Linked DNA regions of Homo sapiens: all the other regions are linked to region 1. Evidence: promoter capture Hi-C in 16 types of primary human blood cells and fetal thymus (Javierre and others, 2016). All regions are on one chromosome and are shown on one strand. Each heading gives the region's core, a stretch centred on a gene start or on the middle of the fragment in contact. The rest is flanking DNA. Distances are from core to core; before and after follow the strand shown. Region 1 holds the start of DISP1 (dispatched RND transporter family member 1). Region 2 overlaps LOC107985323 (a long non-coding RNA gene). Region 3 holds the start of LOC124904521 (a long non-coding RNA gene).

The links. The method cuts DNA at HindIII sites, captures the fragments that hold promoters and counts their contacts. A CHiCAGO score of 5 or more calls a contact.
Region 2: a fragment that was not itself captured here is called in contact with the fragment with the promoter of DISP1 in region 1 in 2 of 17 cell types (endothelial precursors and megakaryocytes); the score reaches 6.4 in endothelial precursors.
Region 3: a contact is called between a fragment that was not itself captured here and the fragment with the promoter of DISP1 in region 1, in 5 of 17 cell types (endothelial precursors, megakaryocytes, total B cells and 2 more). The highest score is 9.4, in endothelial precursors.

Annotation. Positions count from the first base shown.
Region 1 is chr1:222,813,326-222,817,401 of GRCh38, reverse strand. It overlaps DISP1 (dispatched RND transporter family member 1), which reads right to left and starts at 2,363. Exons shown (of 9, transcript NM_001377229.1): 1 at 2,324-2,363. RefSeq lists silencers at 2,403-2,502, 2,593-2,672 and an enhancer at 2,913-2,972. The HindIII fragment of the contact is 6,781 bases long and covers 1-3,595 here.
Region 2 is chr1:223,099,146-223,103,221 of GRCh38, reverse strand. LOC107985323 (a long non-coding RNA gene) reads left to right here. Exons shown (of 3, transcript XR_001738491.2): 1 at 1-99. Among named protein-coding and RNA genes, the nearest start is that of TLR5, 42 kb to the left of the region's middle. The HindIII fragment of the contact is 4,316 bases long and covers 152-4,076 here.
Region 3 is chr1:223,073,543-223,077,618 of GRCh38, reverse strand. LOC124904521 (a long non-coding RNA gene) reads left to right here and starts at 2,626. Exons shown (of 2, transcript XR_007066891.1): 1 at 2,626-2,713. The HindIII fragment of the contact is 2,375 bases long and covers 717-3,091 here.

The DNA of each region.
Region 1 (4,076 bases), core at 1,114-3,613:
TATTTTACAAACTAGAGATTAAGGAAGACAAATGTATGTGTATATGAAGACAGTGTTTTGGTTATCACTATTTTGATAGTTCTTCCAATACAGACACTGTACATATTTCAGAAATAAAAAGAAATAGTGAATCTATAAAATAGCCAGCAGTTCGCTGTACTTAATCAAAAACTGCCATTATTGGTTAAACTGTAAAATACATCTAAATCCTACGGAATAACAAAAATAATTTATCTAGAGAGAAAGCTAAATTTACTAAACAATTAGAAGAAAGAATACAATTCCAAAGATTTTCCGGAATACAGGGCAATCCAACCTCAACATACCATTCATATATATAGCTAGCCCAACTTGCCCAAGAGGGCAAGTGCTCTTGTGTTTCAACAACGAGCACTTCCTCCAACCATGAACTAATGTCTAAAGACTTGCATGCTTTCTCAAGTGCTTTATTTCTCAAAAACCATGGGAAAAGGCGGAAGAAAAATAAAATCAAGTCTTATCAGATAAACAATATTGTCTACTTAAACAAATAAGATTAAATTGAGACATATACAGAAATTAACATGGCAGTTAATTCAATTACTTTAGAGATCAGTGTTATCTCTTCATTTTGTAATTTGAAAACTTATTCAATATGCTCATTTACATGTTAAGGCACTGTTTATGTTTAGGCCTTGCTTTACACTTGTAAATATCAGCAGTCCTCCTAAACATAAGGACGTTATAACTGTGTATTTCACTCAAGCACAGATATTCAAGGCCATCAAGAATTTATAAGCTAGCAAGATATCGCAGTACCAATAAATATAAAATGTTCTAGTTTTCCTGAATTAGTTCAAGTCAGACCACCAAATCAGATCTAAAAGTTACCTGTACTAATACAGTAATTTTTAAAACAAAAACTTCTAACATTTGAAATGTGAAACACCTGAAACAAGCAAAGCAATCATCAGATCTCACCCTCCATCAGTGACAGTGTTATGATTCTTCCTAGCTACCTTGCTCACTTTGTGGCAAAAATCCAATTCACTTACTACCTACTTAAAAGCTAGGAGAATCTTTGTAATTACACTGAGTGAAACACTATATTATGTAGATTAGGAAGCACATATTAATCACATCCAATAAAACATAAATGCAAGGTAAATAATAACTAAATCAATAATTACCTTTGGTAATAATAATGAGCCCACATACCAAACACTGGCCACTGGGGAAAACTAAATGTGCTAATGTGCGTGTAACAACAGATCTTGGGTTATCAATATTTTTAAAAAACACTGACAATGGCAAATATTTATATATATATATATATATATATATATATATTTCCTTACAGCAGAAATAAAAAGGAACAGTAAAATCTTAAGAACTGCTAGTAATTTGCTGCACCCTGATGTAAAATTGCCTTTATTGGTTAAACTAAAAGACTAAACCCAACAAAATAGCTTTTAGAAAAAATGTGTTAGAAAGTTGGACAGAAAAACAATGAGTTGAAACTGCAAACATTGACAGCACTGGCTTTCCATGTGATTATCACCATAATTCTGAACGCATTTAGTTCATCCCATGACAAGGGAAATAAGACAAGCTAAACTCTGCAGGGTAGAGAAGAGTCCAAAAGGAAAACTTTGGTTGTCTTCCTTGGGTGAAGAGAACTCTCAACTACTATCAGTTTGACAAAGACACGCAGAATCTGGGTGAAGCAAGAATTCGAGCGGTCCCTAGGAATATACAATATTTTCCCGAAATCCACACGCGCGGAGCGGGATATATTTCTAAAAACAAAAAACAAACTGCATGAATTGCAAATGAAGCAATAGGAGTTCAGCATCCAATAGGTGGCTGGTCATCTTTCTGGTTCGTTAGGTCAAGACGTCCTTCTCACCTACGACCCTCAGAGAAGGACTGACTCCCTCCTCTGTAACCTCTCCCTGGAAGCCAACCTTTGCCATCTCCTGCCATCCTCTCAGTCAATCCGCCAGGACCCGGGACACGCCCCCACGAATGACTACTTTCCTCCGAGATGCAACTCTGCCCCGTGTCATCCGCAACCTCCAGTCTCAGGGCCTCTTTGGCCTCAGGGTCCCCGGTGCCTCCCTCCTCAGTCCCTAAAGGCTGCCCTTAGGGCTCTCCTGGTTCCCCGTTCTCAGTCCTGGCCCTTCTCTCAAGCCTGGGGTCCCGGATTTCCCTCCACACGCGCGGGAGATGCCGACTCTCCCGTCCCTACCCGGTCTCCCAGTCCCGCGGCGCCGGGCGGCGGCGCGCCGAAAGGCATCCACTGAGGAAACAAGTGCCTGCAACGTTCCGGCTGCGAACTCACCTCCAGTCCGGGCTCTCGGATGCTGGCCCGGAGCCGGGCTTCCGCCTGGCGCGGTCCGCGTCGCGAGCGGGACCGGAAGTCCCGCCCCTCGCCCGCTCCCGGCCCGCTCCCGGCCCGCTGGCCTCGCTTGACTACCGCTCCCCGGGAGAGGGATCGCCGGCGGCGGGCGACGGGCGGCTGGCAAGGGGCAGAGGGCAGAGGGGCTTGGCTTGAAAGGGCGAGGCAGGCGCCAAAAAAATTCCCTCTCGCGCTCCTGCTCTTTCTAGTGTATCCATCGACCAGTGTGCAAATGCTTGACCAAGCGTCTATTCTGCCCAAGCCCAGTGAGGCACAAGATGACTCAGACACTGACCTCTGTCCTCACAATCTAGTTAAAAGTTGACATAAGTAAAAACAGAAGTAAATCACGCCACAAGACAGTGTTTCTTCTTTCATTATTCAGATTATTATCACCTGCTATATAGGCCTGTGAACAACCAGGCACTGCTGTAGGGGCTGGGGATAGAGCGAACAGAGGACAGCCCCACTCTCGTGAGGCTTACACTCAGGGCGAGGAACTAGCTATAGAATAAATCGAACAGCGGCGGCTCCCTCGGGAGGCTTATGCACAGAAACAAAAATATATAAGCAATGAAACCATCAAGTGTTAGAGGCACTCTGGTGGTGCTGTAGGGAACGGTGCAATGTAGAGAGCTGGGCGGAGAAGGCTTTCTAGAAATAATGACTCTTCAATTGAGACTGAAATAAATGATGAATAAGAGTTAAAGGACAGGCACAGTGGAGAAGGGCATGCAGAGAAGAAGGACGTTATGGAGTGAGAGCTTGGCTTGTACCGGTAGCTGGCCAGGAGTTAAGCAAAGTGTCAGATGGCAGATGCAAGAGCAAGCATAATGAGAAGAGACAAGGCCAAATCATGAAGAACGTTGTGCCCTATGCTTAAAAATTTTGGACTTCAGAGACTCCGTGCAACGGAATCCGTGGGGTCATCTAAGGGAATAGACAAAACAGTGAGTCATGGGGTTGACTAGGGGGATTGTCCTAGTCATCAAAGAAAAATAATACATCATGAATAGCATGTTTTATCCTTGAGGGTGCTTTCTTGAACTGCCATACCCAGATGTAAAGGCAATAGACGGCTACCACAACCCTATAAAGGCAGGACCACAAGGGATCATACCCCTCAGGTTGCTGCATTGAGCAAATCACCCCAACCAACTGAGATGCTAACTGAAGTCACAGGGAACTATGGAATGGGCCCAGAAGAAAGAAGCTTCAACACCAGCTACAGTAATGAGGACTGTTGCATTTTTTGTTTGTTTTCTTTGCTACCAGTGTTTAATAAATACTCTCTTGCACACCAAGCCCTTTCTTTGCCTTTTTAAAAAGGAATGGTATAATACATACATTTTTCTTTTTTTCTCCTTTTGCCAGCAAAAGGCCATACATTGCAATATATGGAGATAGGATTACAGTAGAAGAAAATGAGGAATGGATATCGTGTAGAAAGTCTGTACTTAGAGGGCATAACATCAACTCTAAGTGAAGTAAAAGGTCACGCGTTTGGGTTTTCTCCCATTGGGAAGGTTAGTAGTCCATTTGTGGTGATACTTGAAATAACTGATTCACATAGCGGCAAGGTGTATTTTTGAAAGGATGGAAAGAAGAGAGTGTGTATGTGGTGTGATGTGGGGGGTGTGTGTGTGTGTGTGTGTGTGTGTGTGTGTGCCCACGCTGGGTGCCAAGAAGTAGAATG
Region 2 (4,076 bases), core at 1,060-3,559, 290 kb before region 1:
CATTAATGAGCTCCCACCGCTTCCCCAGCTGCAGCTGTATTATAGCGCCAGAGTCTTCCAAGCCTGCAGGTTGTGCCAAGCCTGGAGGGATTTGCAAAAGTAAGTAGCCAGTGGTTTCCGTGCACTGGTCCCTGTGAAAAGAAAAGAAGCTTTTTGGAGTGGGAACTAGGGATCACCACTGGTGATTTAAGGAAGACACTCAGGCTTAGGTGTGAAACAAAGGAGGAGAAGCTGGTGTGGGGAGTTCCTGGCTGGCAAGGGACAACCCCAATGTGAGCCTCGGGTGGGGAGTTCCCCAGCTGGCTTCTTCTGGGCTTGGAATAAGAATGCGGAGTTGCAGTTTTAGCTGTGTGTTGTTTCACCCCTTGGAGCTTCAGGGTTTGGTTTGTTGTTGTTGTTGTTTTCCCCCAGCATTAAAATGTATATAGAATATAGAACTAATTAGCACAGTTCCTAGCACAAAATAAATGCACATTAACACCTGGTAGTGCAGAGAGAGAAACTATGTTGTAGAAAAGTTGACCATCTAGGTTCTCTGGGGTCCACAGGTCTGCTTCTAGTTCCCCTGGTCTGGACACAGTTCCTTGTCCCTGGGGTGAATCTAATCTCTTTGGAGGTCAAGGCAATACGTCTGGAAATCTGAGAAGAAAATCAGTAAACTGGGTTTTTCTTAAACATACAATAAAATGGATACATTCTAAGTGTAAATTTCAATGTCTACACCCATGTAACCATTACCTCCATCAGCATATAGAATGTTTCCTTTACTCCAGAAAGTTGCCTCTTTCGCTTTCCTGCCAATCCTTACCCCTGCCCCAACTCAGACAACCACTGTTGTAATCTATCAACATAGATTGATTTTGGCTGCTCTAGAACTTCACATCAATGGAATCATTCAATCAACATTTTGCATCTGTCTTCCTTTACGTAACATAATTTTTTGAGATGCTTCCAGGATATTATAATATCAGTGAGTTTTCCTTTTTATTGCAGTGTGGATATATTACAATTTATCCAGTCTCCTGTTGAGGGACACCTGGGTTGTTTCCAGTTTTTAGCTATTAGAAATAAAGTTACTATGTCCATTCATTTACAAATCTTTTTGTGGACATGTTTTCCTTTCTCTTGGATAAATATGTAGGAGTAAAATTGCCAGGTCATAAGGTAGGTGTATGTTTTCCTGTTGTATTAGTCTGTTTTCATGCTGTTGATAAAGGCATACCTGAGACTGGGCGATTTACAAAAGAAAGAGGTTTATAGGCCAGGCACGGTGGTTCACACCTGTAGTCCCAGCATTTTGGGAGGCTGAGGTGTGTGGATCACCTGAGGTCAAGAGTTTGAGACCAGCCTGGCCAACATGGCGAAACCCCGTCTCTACTAAAAATACAAAAATTAGCCAGGCATGGTGGCATGTGCCTGTAATCCCATCTACTAGGGGGGCTGAGGCAGGAGGATCACTTGAACCCAGGAGGCGGAGGTTGCAGTGAGCTGAGATTGTGCCACTGCACAATCTGCACTGCAGCCTGGGCAACAGAGCAAGACTTCATCTCAAAAAAAAAAAAAAAAGAAAGAGGTTTGTTGGACTTACAGTTCCATGTGGCTGGGGAGGCCTCACAATCATGGTGGAAGGTGAAAGGCATGTCTCACATGGCGGCAGACAAGAGAAGAGAGCTTGTGCAGGGAAACTCCCCCTTACTACACCATCAGATCTCATGAGACTCATTTGCTATCATGAGAACAGCACAGGAAAGACGTGACCCTACGATTCAATTACCTTTCACTAGGTCCCTCCCACAACACATGGAAATTCAAGATGAAATTTGGGTGGGGACACAGCCAAACCATAACATTCTGCCCCTGGCCCCTCCCAAATTTCATGTCCTCACATTTCAAAGACAATCATGCCTTCCCAACAGTCCCCCAAAGTCTTAACTCATTTTAGCATTAACTGAAAAGTCCAGAGTCTAATGTCTCATCTGAGACCAGGCAAGTCCCTTCTGCCTATGAGCCTGTAAAATCAAAAGCAAGTTAGTTACTTCCTAGATACAATGAGAATACAGGCATTGGGTAAATACAGCCATTCCAAATGGGAGAAATTGGCCAAAATTAAGGGGTTACAGGACCCATGCAAGTCTGAAATCCAACAGGGTGGTCAAATCTTAAAGCTCCAAAATGATCTCCTTTAACTCCATGTCTCACATCCAGATCACGCTGATGCAAGAGGTAGGTTCCCATGGTCTTGGGCAGCTCTGCCCCTGTGGCTTTGCAGTGTACGGCCTCTCTCCCAGCTGCTTTCATGGGCTGGCATTGAGTGTCTGCAGCTTTTCCAGACACACAGTACAAGCTGTCAGTGGATCTACCATTCTGGGGTCTGGAGGACAGTGGCCCTCTTCTCACAGCTTCACTAGGTGGTACTTCAGGAGGGACTCTCTGTGGGGGTTCTGACCCCACATTTCCCTTCTGCACTGCCCTAGCAGAGGTTCCCCATGAGAGCCCTGCCCCTGCAGCAAACTTCTGCCTGGACATCCAGGTGTTTCCACACATCCTCTGAAATCTAGGCAGAGGTTCCCGAAACCTCAATTCTTGACTTCAGTGCACTCGCAGGCTCAAAACCATGTGGCAGCTGCCAAGGCTTGAGGCTTGCACCCTCTGAAGCCACGGCCCGAGCTCTACATTGGTCCCTTTCAGCCACAGCTGAAGCAGCTGGGACCAAGTCCCTAAGCTGCACACAACATGGGGAACCTGAGCCCAGCCCATGAAACCACTTTTTCCTTCCAGGCTTCTAGGCCTGTGATGGGAGGGGCTGCCATGAAGACCTCTGACATGCCCTGGAGACATTTTCCCCATTGTCTTGGGGATTAACATTTGGCTTCTCGTTACTTATGCAAATTTCTGCAGCGGGCTTGAATTTCTCCTTAGAAAATGGGATTTTCTTTTCTATCTCATTATCAAGTGGCAAATTTCCTGAACTTGTATGCTCTGCTTGCCTTATAAAACTGAATGCCTTTAACAGCACTCAAGTCACCTCTTGAATACTTTGCTGCTTAGAAATTTCTTCTGCCAGATACCCTAAATCATCTCTCTCAAGTTCAAAGTTCCACAGATCTCTAGGGCAAGGACAAAATGCCACCAGTCTCTTTGCTAAAACATAGCAAGAGCCACCTTTGCTCCAGTTCCCAACAAGTTTCTCATTTCCATCTGGGACCACCTCAGCCTGGACTTAATTGTCCATATCGCTATTAGCATTTTGGGCAAAGCCATTCAACAAGTCTCTAGGAAGTTCCAAACTTTTGTACATTTTCCTGTCTTCTTCTGAGCCCTCCAAACTGTTCCAACCCCTGCCTGTTACCCAGTTCCAAAGTTGCTTCCACATTTTTGGGTATCTGTTCAGCAGCACCCCACTCTACTGATATCAATTTACTGTATTAGTCCATTTTCACACTGCTGATAAAGACATACCCGGACTGGGCAGTTTACAAAAGAAGGTTTATTGGACTCACAGTTCCATGTGGTTGGGGAGGCCTCACAATCACGGCAGAAGGTGAAAGTCACATCTTAGATGGTGGCAGACAAGAGAAAAGAGCTTTTCAGGGAAACTCTCCCTTATAATACCATCAGATCTTGTGAGACTCATTTGCTATCACGAGAACAGCATGGGAAAGACCTGCCTCCATGATTCAATTACCTTTCACTGGGTGCCTCCCACAACACATGGGAATTCAAGATGAGATTTGGGTGGGGACACAGCCAAACCATATCACCTGTGAAAGAAACCACCAAGCTGTTTTCTAAAATAATGGTAACATTTTATACTTCTCCCAGCTATGTATGAGGTTCCAGTTGCTCCACATCCTTGTCAACACTTGATATGGTCAGTCTTTTGCATTTTAGCCATCCTATTGGGTGTGAAGTGGTAGCTCATAGTAGTTTCATTTGCATTTCCCTAATGACTAATATGCTGAGTACCTCTTAACATGCTTATTAGCCATTCATATATCTTCTTTTATGGAGTGTCTGTTCAAGATTTGTGCTCATTTTAACTGAGTTGCTTGTCTTTTTAGTATTTATTTGTAGGC
Region 3 (4,076 bases), core at 655-3,154, 260 kb before region 1:
CCCTGTGGACGTGGAGTGGCCCGCACAGAAGGATGGAAGGGAGGGGTTCCTGGAACAGAGCCCATCACTTGCTGCAGAGGCATCCCCTGAACTGGCCCGCTGTGGGGTTCCTTCCTTTCCCAGGGGCTATTATTGGTATTTCCCACTCATCTTCAAGACTGAAAAGGAATCTTTGAAAACCACAAGAAGGGGAGGGGGCGTGGAGAGGAGCTCCCTAAGCCAACTCCTTCTGGAAGTCACTGATCTCCCAACAGGAAAGCTGGTCTTTCCTGTTTAGACATCGTGTCTGGCAAGAGGAAATCAAGACCAAAGTAACAATAATAATTACATAAACCTATGATATGTTAACATCACTAGTATCAAAAATGGTTCTGTTTGCATAGAGCCTGCCAGGCACACCAGGGCACACAGCCTGATGGTGGGCTGCTGTGGTCAGAGCTGTGAAATTTAGAAGGCTTCACTAGGGATGGGGAGACCCTTGAAGACTCTCCAGGACACACACGCCTGCGGTAACCTTCAGGATCAGGGGAACGTGACTTCAGGCAGAAGGAGAAAGCCGCATGAAATAGAATGAGTGTGGGCTTTGCTCTCTGCCCAGGTTCAAATCGCAGCCCCAGCTCCTGACAGCTGTTTGACTTTGAACTAGCTGCTCGAATTCTCTGATACTAGCCTCCTTGATACCAAGAGGGAGGTCATACCCAGCTCATATTGAAGCTTTGTGGGATGAGAAACTAGCAGCATGTCTGACACATATGACCCTACCCTTGGACGTTTATGAGCCATGCCGAGCCAATGCAAAGAAATACGTAAGCCAAAGGCACAAGCTGTATTTAAGATTGAGAAGAGGAAGGTTGGGACAAGTGACAAAATGACTTAGTTTCCAATGGGAGAAAACATCTCATATAGGGGCCATTTGATTCTCTGGCTTTGCCCAGGGAATCCCTCAGGCCTTCAGTCAGTGCCAGCAGGAAGGCATCTGCCTGGGGTGGCCTGCAGTGCCAGCCTCACACTGCCCCACGCGGGTGTGTGCCCAATGCAGCTTCACTCAGACGTGTTGGCTGAGAGCTGGCTCCATACCAGGCAGCATGCTAGGCATATGTCTGTATATTCCAAAGGAAGGAGGAAAAGAGAATGTGAATGGTTCCAGGGAATCCAGCGCTGGCTGGGAGGAACAATCAGCTATTCCTTATCTGTGGAGAGCGGTCATTTCACTAGCATTTCAGCTAACAGTACCCCCGAGGGACTGCTAGTTAAGTACAAGAAGGCAGCCCCTGGGTGTTAGGGTTGTGCACATACAGTCTGTTTGATTTTTTTTTTTCAATTCTTTTAGCATGTTTCAACTGAAATCATGTTTATAGAATGAACCAATAAAGAAGGAAACTGAGGCACACTGGGAGGAAGAGACTGCCCCAAATTCACACAGCAAGTGATTTGCAAATCCAAGAGTGAACCTAGAGAACTTGTCAATGCCCGGGTAATTCAGGCGAATGTCTCCTGTCCATTCATTCTGCAGGGCTGCCTTGGCTGAAACTGCCTTTGCAAAAATCACAACTGAGAAAATTATGACAGTGAAAGATACCAGACCTAACTGACACCATCTTGCTTCCAACCTCTAAACGGTCCTTGTTCATTCCTGGACATAGTCAGAACCAGCTTTGGGAAGGAATTTAGTTTATAGTTTAAATAATAGCCCTTCCTAAAAGGCTAAACTATTCTTATAAAACAAATGACAGGCCACCAGCCACCAAGTCAGGAAGAGAAGGGCTGGAATTCTAAATATTACCAGCCATTATTCCAGAGGTGATAAGATTTGCAACTTCCCCAGTTACTTTTGGAGGTAACATCACTATTGTGAATCTAAGATTGGCCTTTTGAGATGAGTTTTCAGGTGCATTTCTAACAACTGGATGGCCCCACCTGGACCTGCTAACCAGTTCTGTGGCCCCCACCCAGGAACTGACTCAGCAGAAGAGAACAGCTTTGACGCTCTGTCATTTCATTGCGGAGCCAACCAATCAATACTCCCAATTCACTAGCCCCCTACCCACCAAATTATCCTTAAAAACTCTGATCCCCGAGTTTTTGGGGAAACTGATTTGAGTAATAATAAAACTCCATTCTCCTGCACAGCCAGCTCTGCATAAATTACCCTTTCTCTATTGCAATTCCCCTGTCTTGATTAATCGGCTCTGTTTAGGCAATGGATAAGGTGAACCTGTTGGGCAGTTACATGGCTTTTTAATCTAACACTTGTTTTTATTTAACTGTGTCAGATATCTTCATGAGACAATTAAGACATTTTAAAAAATGTGTTTACTGAACCTAAGAAACTGCGAAACAAGATATCTAAACAAAAAGCTCATTGTTGAACTATACACTTTTAATACACTGCTGATGAACTAAGAGCCTTTTTAAGGACATTGAATAAACAAGCAGTTGAGTTTAGAGCAGACATTCATCCAGGCGCACGCTCCTCATTTTCAGGCTGCCAGTGGACACGAAGCGTCCACACCCCCACCCACATCCACAAATACTCGCTGCCCCCACAGGACAAACATGTCACAATGGCCCTGCACAGCCCATGACTGTGCAGTCATTTGCTGCTTTCTCAAGCCCACAGAAAGCAAAATATCTCTTTCTAAAGAAAGAAGTGACCGCCAAGCATGGAGTGTTGGGAGTCTTGCCGCTCCTGCAGCTGTGGTCACCACTCCAGGTGCTGTCTGTCCCCCAGGATCTTGGTCACCTCTGGTCACTCAGGCCCCTCCCCACCACCCCCTGACCCCCCCATCTCCCATACACACCCTCCCAGACCCTGCAAACCAACAGCTTCATTCAACACATCAGGGGCTCCACCACAGCCAGGAAGTTTGCTCTCCCTTCACTTCTATTTTGGGAACTTGGACTCAGCCCTGGAATTTTACAAGCCTAGGAGGAATTGGCTGGGCCTTAGCACTTTCCTTTATCCCTGCCTCCTCTCCCCACAAAGCCCCTTTTCCTCTGGATCCCCAGGACGGAATGCACAGCACCCTTGGGCAGCAGGTGGGCTGCAGAAAGGGGACAGGCGGGAGGAGCAAGGCTGCAGCCCCAAGCTTTCCAGGGAGAGTCTAAAAATTTTGTGATTTTCTGCAGCAGAAGTGTAAGGTCTGTAATCTCCTCTGCTAGAATATCTGGGAAGATTCCCTTAGCCAATATTAGGGCAAAATAAACTGTCTTCTTGGTCGGGAGTGGTGGCTCACTCCTGTAATCCCAACACTTTGGGAGGCCGAGGCAGGTGGATCACTTGAGGTCAGGAGTTCGAGACCAGCCTGGCCAACATGGTGAAACCCCGTCTCTACTAAAAATACAAAAATTAGCCAGGCACGGTGGCAGGCGCCTGTCATCCCAGCTACTCTGGAGGCTGAGGAAGAAGAATCACTTGAACCCGGGAGGCAGAGATTGCAGTGAGGTGAGATGGTGCCACTGCACTCCAGCCTGGGCGACAGAACAAGATTCTGTCTCAAAAAAATAATAAATAAATAAACGACCTTCCATAGAGAGAGGGCTCTTGACTGTAGAAGTAAATTGTACCATGATTACTTGTTTATTACCCGCTCCCCAACTAGTGTGTGGTTTCCATTGGCCCTGCGATGTTTGTCTAACTCACTGCTCTGTGGCCAGCACAAGGAGCAGAGTACCTGGACTATGGATTAAGCTCACAGTGGGTGCTCAATAAATGTTGAGTGAACGAATGGATGGATGAAGACATGGGTGGACATAGAGCACTCCTATGTCTCCATCTCACAGCTGTATGTCCTCAGACATAGGGCACAAAGGAAATGAATGGGAATGGATCTATGCAAAGCACCCCCTCTACCAAGACTTGAGGGGTAAAAGTCTAGCTCCTACTGACCAAAACCCCAAGCACACCATCTTCACGTGCTTGCTTTAGTTCCGTAAATCATGTCAAGGCAGGATGAATTGAATCAAGAGGGGCTTAAGCTAGACATTTAGAAGAATTTGTGGTCACTCCTCTAACGTGGCTGCTGTGTGGGTGACACACATTTACCAGTGACGGGTCCCTACAACAACCTGAGGGA